Linked DNA regions of Homo sapiens: region 2 is linked to region 1. Evidence: promoter capture Hi-C in 16 types of primary human blood cells and fetal thymus (Javierre and others, 2016). All regions are on one chromosome and are shown on one strand. Each heading gives the region's core, a stretch centred on a gene start or on the middle of the fragment in contact. The rest is flanking DNA. Distances are from core to core; before and after follow the strand shown. Region 1 holds the start of TTC23L (tetratricopeptide repeat domain 23 like). Region 2 overlaps TARS1 (threonyl-tRNA synthetase 1).

What was found. Contacts are between HindIII fragments. The CHiCAGO score rates a contact against its expected background, and 5 or more counts as called.
Region 2: a fragment that was not itself captured here is called in contact with the fragment with the promoter of TTC23L in region 1 in 1 of 17 cell types (non-activated CD4 T cells); the score reaches 6.2 in non-activated CD4 T cells.

The regions. Positions count from the first base shown.
Region 1 is chr5:34,835,883-34,842,259 of GRCh38, forward strand. TTC23L (tetratricopeptide repeat domain 23 like) reads left to right here and starts at 3,282. Exons shown (of 11, transcript NM_144725.4): 1 at 3,282-3,377; 2 at 4,783-4,857. The coding sequence starts at 4,790. It overlaps TTC23L-AS1 (TTC23L antisense RNA 1), which reads right to left and starts at 3,450. Exons shown (of 2, transcript NR_183259.1): 1 at 3,301-3,450; 2 at 1,665-3,135. It overlaps LOC124900959 (a long non-coding RNA gene), which reads right to left. Exons shown (of 2, transcript XR_007058729.1): 2 at 6,276-6,377. RefSeq lists an enhancer at 3,572-3,681. The HindIII fragment of the contact is 6,317 bases long and covers 1,293-6,377 here.
Region 2 is chr5:33,440,998-33,447,849 of GRCh38, forward strand. It overlaps TARS1 (threonyl-tRNA synthetase 1), which reads left to right. Exons shown (of 19, transcript NM_152295.5): 1 at 1-146; 2 at 4,327-4,407. The coding sequence starts at 90. Among named protein-coding and RNA genes, the nearest start is that of TARS1, 3.5 kb to the left of the region's middle. RefSeq lists enhancers at 1-155, 416-475, 490-1,076, 6,774-6,852. The HindIII fragment of the contact is 1,323 bases long and covers 3,688-5,010 here.

The DNA of each region.
Region 1 (6,377 bases), core at 2,032-4,531:
TGTTAACATCTTAGAATGTTCTTCTCCTAAATATTTGCACAATTTGTTGCACGATTTGAGGTATCTTCTCAATGTCATCTTGTCAGAGAGGCCCTGTTTAACTACACTATGTAAGATGGCACACCCCTCCCGCCATGGCCACATCACCTTCTAAATCCCTTACCTGGTTTTATTTTTCTCCATAACTGTTTATCATGTTTTCTTTTTCTTTTTTCTTTTTTTTTTTTTTTAAGATGGATTCTTGCTCTTGTCACCCAGGCTGGAGTGCAATGGAACAATCTCGGCTCACTGCAACCTCTGCCTCCCACGTTCAAGCAATTCTCCTGCCTCAGCCTCCCAAGTAGCTGAGATTACAGGCACCCGCCACCACACCCAGCTAATTTTTTACTTTTAGTAGAGATGGGGTTTTGCCATGTTGGCCAGGCTGGTCTCGAAATCCTGATCTGGTGATCCACCCGCCTTGGCCTCCCAAAGTGCTGGGATTACAGGCGTGAGCCACTGTGCCCAGCCCACTTTTTCTTAAGGTGACTCTTCTGGCTAAGGGAGTCAGTGAGTCCTGAAATCCAGCCCACTCTCTGTTCCCAAAGCTGTACTCCTTAGCAGGGGTCTGAGTCTGGCTGGAGGAAAAGGCTTTTTCCAAATTCATACACTGTCACTGCATACTCCCTAAGCCTTCTGCCTTTTTGTAACTTGCAGAGACACCATACTGTTTACTAGCAGCTCTGTTTTTCTTCATCTAGTAGAATATAAATTCCTGGAAAGCAAAATCATTATCTTATTTGTTCACTTTTGCTTTCCTACTGCTTAGAACATTATCTGGCACATAGTAGGTATTCCACAAATATTTTTGTCTGGGTGGATGGATAGATGTATGGAGATTGGAGAAACTTGCAAATAAACAGAAGTGCCAGTACAATGTGAGAGTCATGATGAGATTGTGGACAGGGTACTGCGAGGGCTCAGAAGCAAGGCATCTAACCCTCTCTTGAGAGGCCATAAAAATGTGTTCCAAGCGAAAGTTTATTTGGATTTCCTTGCCTTAAATTTCACAGTTCCTGGGATAAGAATAGCTTGGAGATAATCACATTTGATTTGGGGTTGTTAGAGCCTAGAAAAACCCCCCATACTGCTTCCTCTATGCAATTTCTGCAATAGCAATGCTTGCCACCTCTACCTCCGGATCAGGGGAGGGAATGTGAATACACACGGTGGAAACGCACTATCCACTTAGATTAGTGGGATGCCATTCTAGAGTTAGTGAACAAACCTAAAAGTGTATATACTACAACTAAAGCTTACATTTGGGGGACAGGGTTAACATGACAAGGAAAGAAATACCAAAAAACTTCAAGAGTCCTCAAAGTTCTGGCTGGACGGTGGCTCACACCTGTAATCCCGGCACTTTGGGAGGCTGAGGCAGGCAGATCACCTGAGGTCAGGAGTTCGAGACTAGCCTGGCCAACACAGTGAAACCCTGTCTCTACTAAAAATACAAAAACTAGACAGACAGTAGTGGCACACATCTGTAATCCCAGCTACTCGGGAGGCTGAGGCAGCAGAATTGCTTGAACCCGGGAGGCGGAGGTTGCACTGAGCCAAGATCACACCACTGCACTCCAACCTGGGCCACAGAGTGAGACTCTGTCTCAAAAAAAGAAAAAAAATAGTCGCCAAAGTTATTTTATTTTGATTTATAATTTTTACAGATGCAGGCAACATGCTTCCGGTCAGAGCTAATGAAATGGAGGCCGAATTAGAGCGTTGGCTTTAGGAATGGGAATTCAGTGCCTGTTCTGGTTCTTCTCTCCACAATTATCAGCAAAAGCAAAGGTTTAGAAAAGAGACATTACCTTTAATATACTTAGAAACAATCTCACAGCCATTTCCTAGAATGAAAGAACATTAAAACCTTTCAATTTGATGACCAACTTAACAAGGGGTAAAAGAAATAAATGTTGGAGAACAGGAAACAGGTTCTTCCTTTTTACTCCCATACATGTTAAATACTGTTCATAGAGTCACAAAAATCGTTTACCCCTTACAGAAACCTGGAACCAGAAGGCGCTTCAGAAAGCAAGTGGTACAAAAACTTTCACCGTATAGGCAAGAAAATTGGGACCCACTGGCCGTGACTCGGCCCAGGCTACAGAGTCAAAACCAGAACCTTGACATTCTGAAATCAGGTTCATTGCTGTCATCATTGTTCCATGCTGAGAGTTTTCTTAGGAAAAAGAATAAAGTGGGGGAATCTTTCCAAAATTGTGACTATGGAGCTCGAAAGTACAGATTTAAATCTTGAGTTAACAGACCATACAGGTTTTACTTAAGAGATATTCAAGCAAACTCATTTAAATAACTCCTCCAACCTAACTCCAAAAAGGCTTTCTTGGCAGTCTTGGATCAATGGCAATTAAACTTCCAGCCTAGAGCTGGAAATAACAAACACCAAACGTAAACACCATCTTTCACATTCTCAATGTTCTCCTTGTCTCTCTACCTAGTCTGCTCTTTTCTGAAAACAACTGGGACACATTCACTCCAACTTGACTTGCCATAGGCCTAGTCTATGATAGGGTTCATAATAACATCCTTCAACATAGCGTTGCAAGAGCTGGCGCTGTTTCTTTGGGTATGGCCACAATTGCCTCTGCACCTTGTGTGTATTACACACACTGTATTCCATGCCAACGAAAGGGTAAGATATGGCTGCATTATTTAGGGCTAAGTGCTAAATAAATAATGAACAGCTAACCATTAGCAGATCTAGTAGTCGATTTCTTACCCTACTCTCTTCCTGCAATCAGCTTTCCTAACCATGCCTAGCTCCAATCTTACTGGGTAACACAGACGGTGCCAGCACAGTCAACAGCCATATCTAAGCCTTTCCTCTGGGGTCCATAAAAACAAAACTCCCGAGGAGCTGTGGGGGTGCACCGTGGCCAGGATCGTCGCCGAATACAGCCCGCACACGTCGCAGCTTTAAATAAGTAGGGCCGTGGGGCCCGGCGCTCCCTTCCATCCTTGGACGGAATGTATCTTCTCTTCCTACGCCTTCACCTCCGAGGGGTAAGGTCTCGTGAGATACAATATGCAGAGGCCAGTTTTGGGGCGAGCCGGAGGCCGGGCGCGTCTAACCTGCGGGGAAGGGAAAGCGGAGGGTAAGGCAAGGGCTGCTGTAGGCGCCAGACAACAGGGACTCTCCGAACCGGAAGTGCCCCGCGTCGCCATGGCTACAGGCGCTCCCAGCAGAACCCGTAGCGTTCCGTTCCCATGGCAACGGTATTGTCTCCTTGGCCGGACCTGGGCTGCGGAAGGTAACTGGGGACGTCGCAGGCTGTGCAGCTTTCGCGAGGCACCGCTTTGGCGCCCGGACCGAGGTGCGCCAGGGTCAGGAGGCCGACGCAGCGGGAGGAAGCCGCGCCGTCGGGCTCAGGGAGCTGGGAGGCTGGTTCCGGGGCGTGGTTTCTCCGCCTTGAGCCAGGTGCCCTTTGCGCACTCGCGCGTTCTCTTAGAGCCTCCGCGGCAGAGAGGCTCTCAGAGCTCGACCTGCGGCGTCAGGGCTTACAGACTTGCCGCAGAACCACAGCGGGAAAAGAGGAGCGATTCGTCCTTGAGGGGCTCAGGGCCGTGCGGAACGTCATAGGAACAGAGTCCGGGAGTTTGAGAGATCAGAACTCTTTGCTGTGGGCATAGTGTTTAAAGTGGAGGTTAAAAAGAGAAATTAGTGACTCTCCCTTTCTGATTTTCGGATAATGGATGCTCTGGAGCCTGGGTCAGAAAGCCACTCAGGGCTCGGTGGGAATTAGTGATTCTGGAGGGTGAAAGGAGAGGCGACTTGGTGGATGTTAACATTCAATAAGTAACTGCGTTCGATTTGGGTTTGATTTAAGCGACTGGCATAGCCTTCCTTGAGAGTTGAATTTCACAAATACTGTATTTAGAAATCACATTTTTCGTTTTGTGCTTCCGAGGTTTCTCCTATCATCTAACAGCAACAACTAAAACAGACACATGAATTTCATTTTATTGTTTTATTTTATTTTGAGACGGAGTCTCGCTCTGTCGCCCAGGCTGGAGTGCAGTGGCGCGATCTCCGCCTCCCGGGTTCAAGCGATTCTCCTGCCTCAGCCTCCCGAGTAGCTGGAACTACAGGCGTGCACCACCACAGCCGACTATATTTTGTATTTTTAGTAGAGACGGGGTTTCACCCTGTTGGCCAGGCTGGTCTCGAACTCCTGAACTCGGGTGATCCACCCGCCTCGGCTTCCCACAGTGCTGGGATTACAGGCGTGAGCCTCTGTACCCGCCTCGTGACCCCTGTACTAGAATCTGCTATTAATTAGTGAAATGACCCCGGGGGGGGGGGGGAAAGCAGAATTAACCAATACACTGGCTGTGCTTCGTTTACCACTGAGAGTTGGTTGCTTTGCTTAAATCCAACACGCCGTCAGACCTGCAAAAACAATATCTGAGTTAAGTAGGTGACCATAGTTTTGATGACCCAGGAACTGTAAATGTGCTTGCTTTGAGACATAAAGGCCAGGGATTTTGGAGAAGTAGGGTGGAGTTGAAATTAGGGGAAAGAAATTTAACTTAGACATTTAATTTGGCAAATGTCTGTTTTCCAGCGGTCTCCATATCTAAGTATGCGTAGTCTGTGGATTTAGGATGGGTTATATATTTGAGCAGTTTTAGTTTAATGTTAATAGCAAACCAGAGGGGGAAAATAGAACAGACACCCAGCCTTTTCTCTCAAAGCTGACCTTACCTGATTCTTGGTAGGAAGAAGATGCAAGCCAGCCCCATCCGTATCCCAACTGTTAGCAATGACATCGACTGGGATTTCTGCTTCCATATGTAAGTATCACAGCATTTTGACATCACAGGTACTTACTGGGCTGAAACACTGGGACCTCCTGCTTAAGGCAAACCTGGGTGAGGAGCTTTGCATGAGAAGCGTTCACGACCAGCCTGACCAACATGGTGAAACCCCGTCTCTACTAAAAATACAAAAATTAGCTGCGCGGTAGTGGCACGCGACTGTAATCCCAGCTACTCGGGAGGCTGAGGCAGGAGAATAGCTGAACCCGGAGGCAGAGGTTGTGGTGGGCTGAGATTCCATCACTGCACTCCAGTCTGGGCAATAGAGACCCTGTCTCAAAAAAAAATAAAATAAAATAAAAAAGAAGGTTGTGTTTCTGATGTGCTTTAATAATGATTCTGCTATAATATCTGTTTGTATTTACAACCTATGCATGATAGAAGATTGCTTTTTCCCGACTTAAGGAAATTTTAAAAGTTTTTAAAATAAAAATAGGTTAGTTATAACAAGATTGGCAAAATTGTAGAGAGTTAGCTATAACAAAGTTAATGAGAAAATTTTTATGAAATAGAGTAAATAAAACTTTCGTATCGTCTAATACTTATTGAGCACATACTATGTGCCAGGCTCTGTTCTAAGTACCTTAAACGTCTTAGCTGATTTAATCCCCCCAAGCCCTGTGAAGGAGTTACTGTTATTGGTACATTTTATAGATGAGTATGAATCAAAGAGATGTTAGGGAGTTTGCCCAAAGTTGCAAAGCTAGTAAATGGTATTTAAACTGGGCATTCTGACTCTAGAATCCATTCTTGTTTTGTTTTGTTTCGTTTTTAGAGACAGCCTTGCTCTGTCACCCAGGCTGGAGTGCAGTGGTGCAATCACGGCTCACTGCAGCCTTGGCCTCTTAGGCTCAAGAGATCCTCCCACCTCAGCCTCCTGAGTAGCTGGGACTACAGGCACACACCACCATACCTGCCTAATTTTTACATTTTTGTAGAGATGCGTTCTCATTATGTTACCTAGGCTGGTCTGGAACTCCTGGGCTCAAGTGATCCTCCTGCCTCAGCCTCTCAAAGTGCTGGGATTACAGGCATGAGCCACTGTGCCCAGGTAGAGTCCATTCTTTAACCATTCTCTATAGCAGGGTTTCTCGGTCTCTGCACTGTTGACATTGGGGTTGGATAACTGTTTGTTGTGGAGGGCTGTCCTATATGTTGTAGGATTTTTAGCAGCATCCCTGGCCACCATCCACTAGATGCCAGTAGCACTAGCTCCAGTTGTGACAAGCAAAAATGTCTCTAGATGCTGCCAGATTTCCCCTCGGGGCAAAGTCATCCTTAGTTGGGAACCATTGCTCTATACCAGTGTCATCAAATAGAAATATAATGCAAACCACATATGTAATTTAAAATTTTCTGCTACCCATATTAAAAGGTGAAATGAAACACATGAATTTAATTTCAATACTATATTTTATTTCAATATATACAAAATATGCTAAAATTATTAATGAAATATTTTATCTTTTTATACTCTTTAAAATACAGCACATATT
Region 2 (6,852 bases), core at 3,099-5,598, 1.4 Mb before region 1:
CCGGGCGCTAGCCCACCTCCCACCCGCCTCTTGGCTCCTCTCCTCTAGGCCGTCGCTTTCGGGTTCTCTCATCGCTTCGTCGTTCGCCAATGTTTGAGGAGAAGGCCAGCAGTCCTTCAGGGAAGATGGGAGGCGAGGAGAAGCCGGTGAGCAAACTTGGTGGGACCCAGAGACCAGCCTGGGACTCTAGTGGGTGCAGACGCTACGCTCGCGGCGGGAGCGGGGGGCAGGAAGCAGGAAGCGGCCGGGACCGCGTGGGTCGGAGAAGTGGGGGATGGTGGGACTCCTGGAAAGTCGGAACCCCCTTTGGGAACCATCCATTCATAAATTAGGGTGGGGCCTTGCAGTTCATCTGTGGGTCCATTCTCTTTACAGATGAGGAAACAGACCTTGAGTGAGCGACTTGTTCAGAGCCTCACATCTACAGTAGTTAGACGCGGAGACAGAATCAGAATCTTAGGCTTGAGGCTTCCAAACTTGCGTTTATGGCTTACTGTAAGCGGGAAACACATTGCAGAGCCTTATTTAATCAATCTCCTAAGATCCTGCGGGGGTAAAGAGCTCCATTTTAAGGAAAGGAAAACCGAGTGCCCGAGATCTGACCCAGCTTGTCCAAGTTTGGGTGGTTAAGTATACATTTTGCCCGGCACTGATCTGGGCGGTGCATGTGGGAAGATGAATAGGGCCCAGTTCCCCGACTTTGAGGGCCTCACAGGCTGATGTGTAAGAGACAGGAAAACAGCCCTAGTGCTTTGTGATCAACCTTGTGGTATTACAGAAGAGGAAGTTTAGGAAGGCACTTTAGAATTTAGTTTGGAAGAATGATTTCACCAGGTAAACAGGCAGGACGGGGCTTCCCACGTAAAGGTAGGGAAGGCAGTGAAAAGGGGCACGCAGGTGAATTGTCTTTCGGGTTGTTTGCAAGAGATATGCCAGAAGGGTTAAAGGAACAGTAATCAGAAGGATCTTAGGCAACAAGGATGTTTGAAACTTGTATTCTATACATGAAGGATCTTAAGCAGGAAGATTGTATTTGTAAAAGTCACGCTGGCATTGGGATAGAAGGTTAGGCCACATGCAGAAGGCTGTTGTAATAGTCCAAGTGAGAAGTGGTGACGTCTTCAGCTAAGGGATCCTCTATCCCAAGTCTGTGACAGGACAGTTCACTTAAAAGCCAAATTTTTTTCTTGATTGTCCACTCGAGATTGAATGGAGAAACTGCATACGGGCACATTCTAACTATGTAAATTTAATTCTAGATGATAAATGGTGACTATACGTAGATTTTTTTCACATAAAATGATATTTTTACTGTTTTGTAACTTTTTTTTTTTTTTTTTTTTTTGCTTAATAGAATGTGGTCAACAACTTTCCATGTCCATAAATATTCTCCTGTGCTATTCTTAATTGGACGTGATATGTATGGTTAACACATATGTAATTTTTCCTTCCTGTAATAATTATACAATAGTTAATATTTATTTTGAGTACTAAATACGAGTTTGGCACTGTATTAATGCATTCCATGAATTAACTCATTCAGTCTTCTTTTTTTTGAGACGGAGTCTCGCTCTGTCACTCAGGCTGGAGTGCCGTGGTGCGATCTCGGCTCACTGCAAGCTCCACCTCCCGGGTTCATGCCATTCTCCTGCCTCAGCCACCAGGCCTGGCTAATTTTTTGTATTTTTAGTAGAGACGGGGTTTCACCGTGTTAGCCAGGATGGTCTCGATCTCCTGACCTCGTGATCCGCCCGTCTCGGCCTCCCAAAGTTCTTGGATTACAGGCGTGATCCACCGCGCCCGGCCTCATTCAGTCTTCTTAATAACGCTGTGAAGTGGGTTCTGTTATTATCTCCATTATACAGATGAGAAAGCAGGCGTAGGAACAGTAACTTGCTCAAACCCAGTATCCCCGTTTTTTTCCTTCCTCAAACCCAGTATCCTATAGCCAATACTAATAACCCCTGTGCTGTTCTGAGTGAGTCAGGGACAGATCATTCCTGAGAAAGGTAATTCTGTAGCTTCTCTTCACAATCCGGTTCTGTTTCCCAACTTTTGGGTTGAGATTTTAGATTACTTGTATGTAGATGTACATACCATATATACTCAGGGAAATAGAGAACAGTTGCCTACTCTCTTCCCAGTGTTGTAGAAAAGGGGTCATAGGCCTCAGGGTTCCAGAGAGACCTGTTGTAATTTCCCAGCTCTATTACTTAATGATACAAATGGGCAAGTTACTTCTTTGAGCCAGTGTTCTTGTTTGTAAAATGGAGCCGTATTTAGAACCAGAAAACCTTTGTGGTGATTCCCTCTCTCTCTCTCCCTCTCTCTCTCTCTCTCTCTCTCTCTCTCTCTCTCTCTCTCACTACCCCTGTTCATTTGGCAAATGGTCAAAACCAAAATAATCTTATCAGAAATATAAAACTTATTTTATCATCTTTCCATTTTAAACCTGCACAGACCTGCAATTTTTCTTTCTTTTTTTTTTTTTTTTTGTTGTCGTTGTTGTTGTTGAAATGGAGTCTTGCTCTGTCTCCCAGGCTGGAGTGCAGTGGCGCGATCTCTGCTCACTGCAAGCTCCGCCTCCCGGGTTCCAGCCATTCTCCTGCCTCAGCCTCCCGAGTAGCTGGGACTACAGGCACCCGCCACCACGCCCGGCTAATTTTTTTTGTATTTTTTAGTAGAGACGGGGTTTCACCGTGTTAGCCAGGATGGTCTCGATCTCCTGACCTCGTGATCTGCCCGCCTCGGCCTCCCAAAGTGCTGGGATTACAGGCATGAGCCACCGCGCCCAGCCGCAATTTTTCTTTTTACCCAGTATACTTGATCAGTTACATCACTTCTGCAGTATAACAAAGGCTCTATTGAATCTAAATGAACCTTTAAAGTTTATTAAATCCAGACTTCTGGAGTAGGGGGGATTTTAGCTCAGCATGAAATTAGGAGTCATATTTTAAAATTAGTTTTTTTTTTAATTATACAAGTAACGCATTTTATAGGATTTAAAAGACAATGGCCAAAATGTCCATCAACTGATAAATGGATAAGTAAGCAATGGAATATTATTTGATAATAAAAAGGTACAATGACAAGTATTGATGCATGTTACAACCTGATGATCTTGAAATTATTATGCTAACTAAAAGAAGCCTGTCACAAAAGACCACATAATGTGTGATTCTATTTATATGAAATTCCCAGAATAGGCAAATCTATAGAAACAGAAACTAGGTTAATGGTTGCCAGGGTCTGGAGATGAAGGCAACAGGGAGTAAACTGCTAATGGGTACAAGGTTTCTTTTTGAGGGTGATGAAAATACTCTAAAATTGATGGTAGTGATAGTTGCAAAACAGTGAATACCTAAAAACCATTGAATTGTGTACTTTACATGGGTAACTTGTATGGTATATGAATTGTATCTTAAAACTTAAGAAAACTAAAGGTCACAAACATGCAAACTAATTAAAATCCCTGTTTACATTCCTGGCACAGGATTTATTACTTTAAAACTTTCTATGACTTCACTTGCTTCTAATTGAAGTCTGTATTCCTTATGGTAACTTTTAGTTCTTGCTTCTGTGAGCCTTAGTCTGTCTTACCTTGTATTACTTTCTAAAACAATCCTTCATTAATCAGCCTGGTTTAGTCATTTTTTCTCTCTTTAAATTTTAACATTTCTGACAACAAGCTTATGTGTACACATAGGACACATTTCCTGTATTCTCAGAATCCACCTGTTGAAATGCATTCCATCCTTTAAAACGCTAGTCCTAGCTTATTTGACATCTAATCGTAGCGTTACTACTGTGTTTTCTCCTCCGGGAGTTTCTCACACATGTATGCCTTACTTTCCCTGGAGAGACTAGGTTTACACATGGTAGGGATTGGGCCTTATGTTTGCTTCTTCCATGGCTTTTGTTAGCACTGGTGGAATTCATGGGCACACTTTGCATTCAGTTTTTTTTTTTTTCCCCTGGAAATATGCTTACTGAATCAACTGCGTGCTTCCTTGTGGCCATATGTTTGGTATGTGGTCCAAGTAAACCTGAAGCGAGAGTCACAAGAATAGTTAAAATAAAATAAATGAAATTTGAGGAGTTAAACATCGTTAGTAACTCCTTCCTACTTTTTAAAGACTTGCCTTTATTGTAAGTTGTTAACCTGTCTTTGCCAGTGATGAAATTGTTCAGTCTTTCAATATCAGATTTCCATTTTTTTTAAATTAAATAACAAATACTAAAATAACATTCTCAACACTTCCTGGGGCATCACAGGATGGAGGTGTCACATTAGATTAAAATATAAAACGTTTTTTGCTTATTTAGATTGGTGCTGGTGAAGAGAAGCAAAAGGAAGGAGGCAAAAAGAAGAACAAAGAAGGATCTGGAGATGGAGGTCGAGCTGAGGTAAAAGTTATCATCACAGAGGGCTCTGTTATCAGAGGTTGGCAAATCGCAGGGAACTTTCTGAGACTTTCCTAATGTGTAAGGGTTCTAATGGTTTACATGGTAGTGTAAGATGGTACTGGTTGGAAAAATCAGGAAGAAGAATTAGGAAAGGGTAATCTGAGAGGGGAAAAAAGACTTTCAGTTGTTACTGTAAAAGGAAGCAACTGGCGTATGATTGTATAAGATGATCTGATTGTAGGGTTGAATATAAAAATCAGAGAACAAAAGTTGAAGAGGAGACTGGTAATTATTCAGTTGCCAGATGTGATGCCAGCTCTGACATTTCATTAAATGAGATGTTAGGGAATAGAGACTTGGTGTTTGGGCTTACACTGAATACAATGAAAACCAAAGAAAGCCAGTTTTTTGACCCCCTCCTTGCCCTTTCCATCTGGACCTGCCCTAGGGTTGGCTTCTAAGCCAGGACAGATCCCCTTAAGGCCTCTCAAGTCTGCAGAAAATGCTTTCACTTCTCCAGGCTCACACTGAAAGGAACTGGCATATCAAAAGCCAGCCCTAAATCAACCTGGTTCCTGAGTATTTTGCTTTTACAGGCAGTTAAGCTTGCCTTTCTACTTTATTTTTACTGCTGTGAACTGTGCTTCACTTTTTGCTTTAGTCATTACAGCTGTTTTATTGGAGACTCTTTAGAAAGCTACCAGAAGGAAGAAGCACAAAGGAACAGCCTTTTTAGAAGTAGCACAGTAAGCTGGCTTTTAAGAGCCACTTTTACAAATGCTGCAATTGCTAAATTTATAGTGCCGTCATTTACTTTAGGGTAAGTTTATAGATGATCAAGTGTAGTGTTGCTTAGAACCCTACCTAACCATTTATCTTACGGCTGATCAGTTGATCAGTCTCCCGACCATTATACCCCCACTGTAATTGTGAAGAAAATTGTTGATTGTGAATTTTAAAATTTGCAAGCCAATGGAAAAATGCATATGTTCCCTAATTTCTTTTTTATACTTTCAATACAAACATACGTGCTGTTCCATCACAGCTTGAGAAATGACCTGGAAATAAGACAAAGAGTATAATTAGAAGACTCTTCTGAACAGAGAATTTTAAGTGGGACATGTGATTATTTATGTTTAACGATTGGTCTGGAAAAAAGAGTGTACAGTGAACTGTCCAAGACCTTGGTCTTCCCCTCCAAGGGCAACTTGCAGGTTTTATTCATCTCTGCAATCACAGAGACTGACACAGAGGGTATCTGCTGAATGAATGTTGAAGAGATTTTGACACGAAATTCTAATTGGGACATTGCAAGTGGCTATGATGATAAACTGCAGTTAAGATACAGAGGGTGGTGCAGGTGGGTAGGATTATAATGATGCTTTAGAGTGGATGGAACTGGGTACTGTGCATTAGTCTGAGGGGTTCAGATTATGGTTGTAGAATGACAGGCTCTGTCTGAGCTTTTAGTTAATTCATGGGTTCTTCACCATTGAAGGTTATGGACCGTTGTGATAATTTGATGAAAAGCTCTCAACAACTGAACGACTAAAGAAAGGGAGGGACTGCTGTGGGTGGGAATTACAAAGATATTAGGGCCTGATACGGTGGTAGGAACCAATCACTTGAGACTGAGTGGGAGAATCACTGGAGCCCAGGAGTTTGGGGCCAAAATGCGCTGTGACTGTGCCTGTGAATAGTCACTGCGCTCCAGCCAGCCTAGGCAACATAGTGAAACCCTGTCGTTAAAGAATGGAAAGAAGGAGGGAGGGAAGGAATTACTGGGCAGACAATTAATCTTTTTCATTTGATATTATTTTCTATTATCTCCAGTCAATTTTGTTTTGTTTTGTTTTGTTTGAGACAAGGTCTCACTCTGTTGCCCAGGTTGGAGTGCAGTGGCCCAATCTTGGCTCACTGCAACCTCCACCTCCCAGGTTCAAGCAATTCTTATGCCTCAGCCCCACAAGTAGCTGGGACTACAGGTGTGCGCCACCACACCTGGCTAATTTTTGTATTTTTAGTAGAGATAGGATTTTGCCATGTTGGCCAGGGTGGTATCGAACTCCTGGCCTCAAGTGATCCATCTGCCTTGGCCTCCCTAAGTGCTGGGATTACAGGAATGAACCACCATGCCCTGCCCCAGTCAGTTTCTTAAGGATTAGATATTCCCTTGTACTCCTTTCAAATTGTGGTATGTTGATATATATGGAGACATATGTATGGAGACGTTGGTAGCATTATCAACATTGAATAAATGTTAAAATCTGTATTGCAGTAAGTCATTTTATATCTGATAGATTGAAATTCATTTGAAGATAGAAAGTCATGGCAAAATTAAGCAATCTCCTCTTCACTTTTGTATGAAGTGTTAATGTTCATGTAATTTGAAGATGATGAATGCTGTAGATGTTAGTTTGACTGTTTTGTTACCACAGATTCACT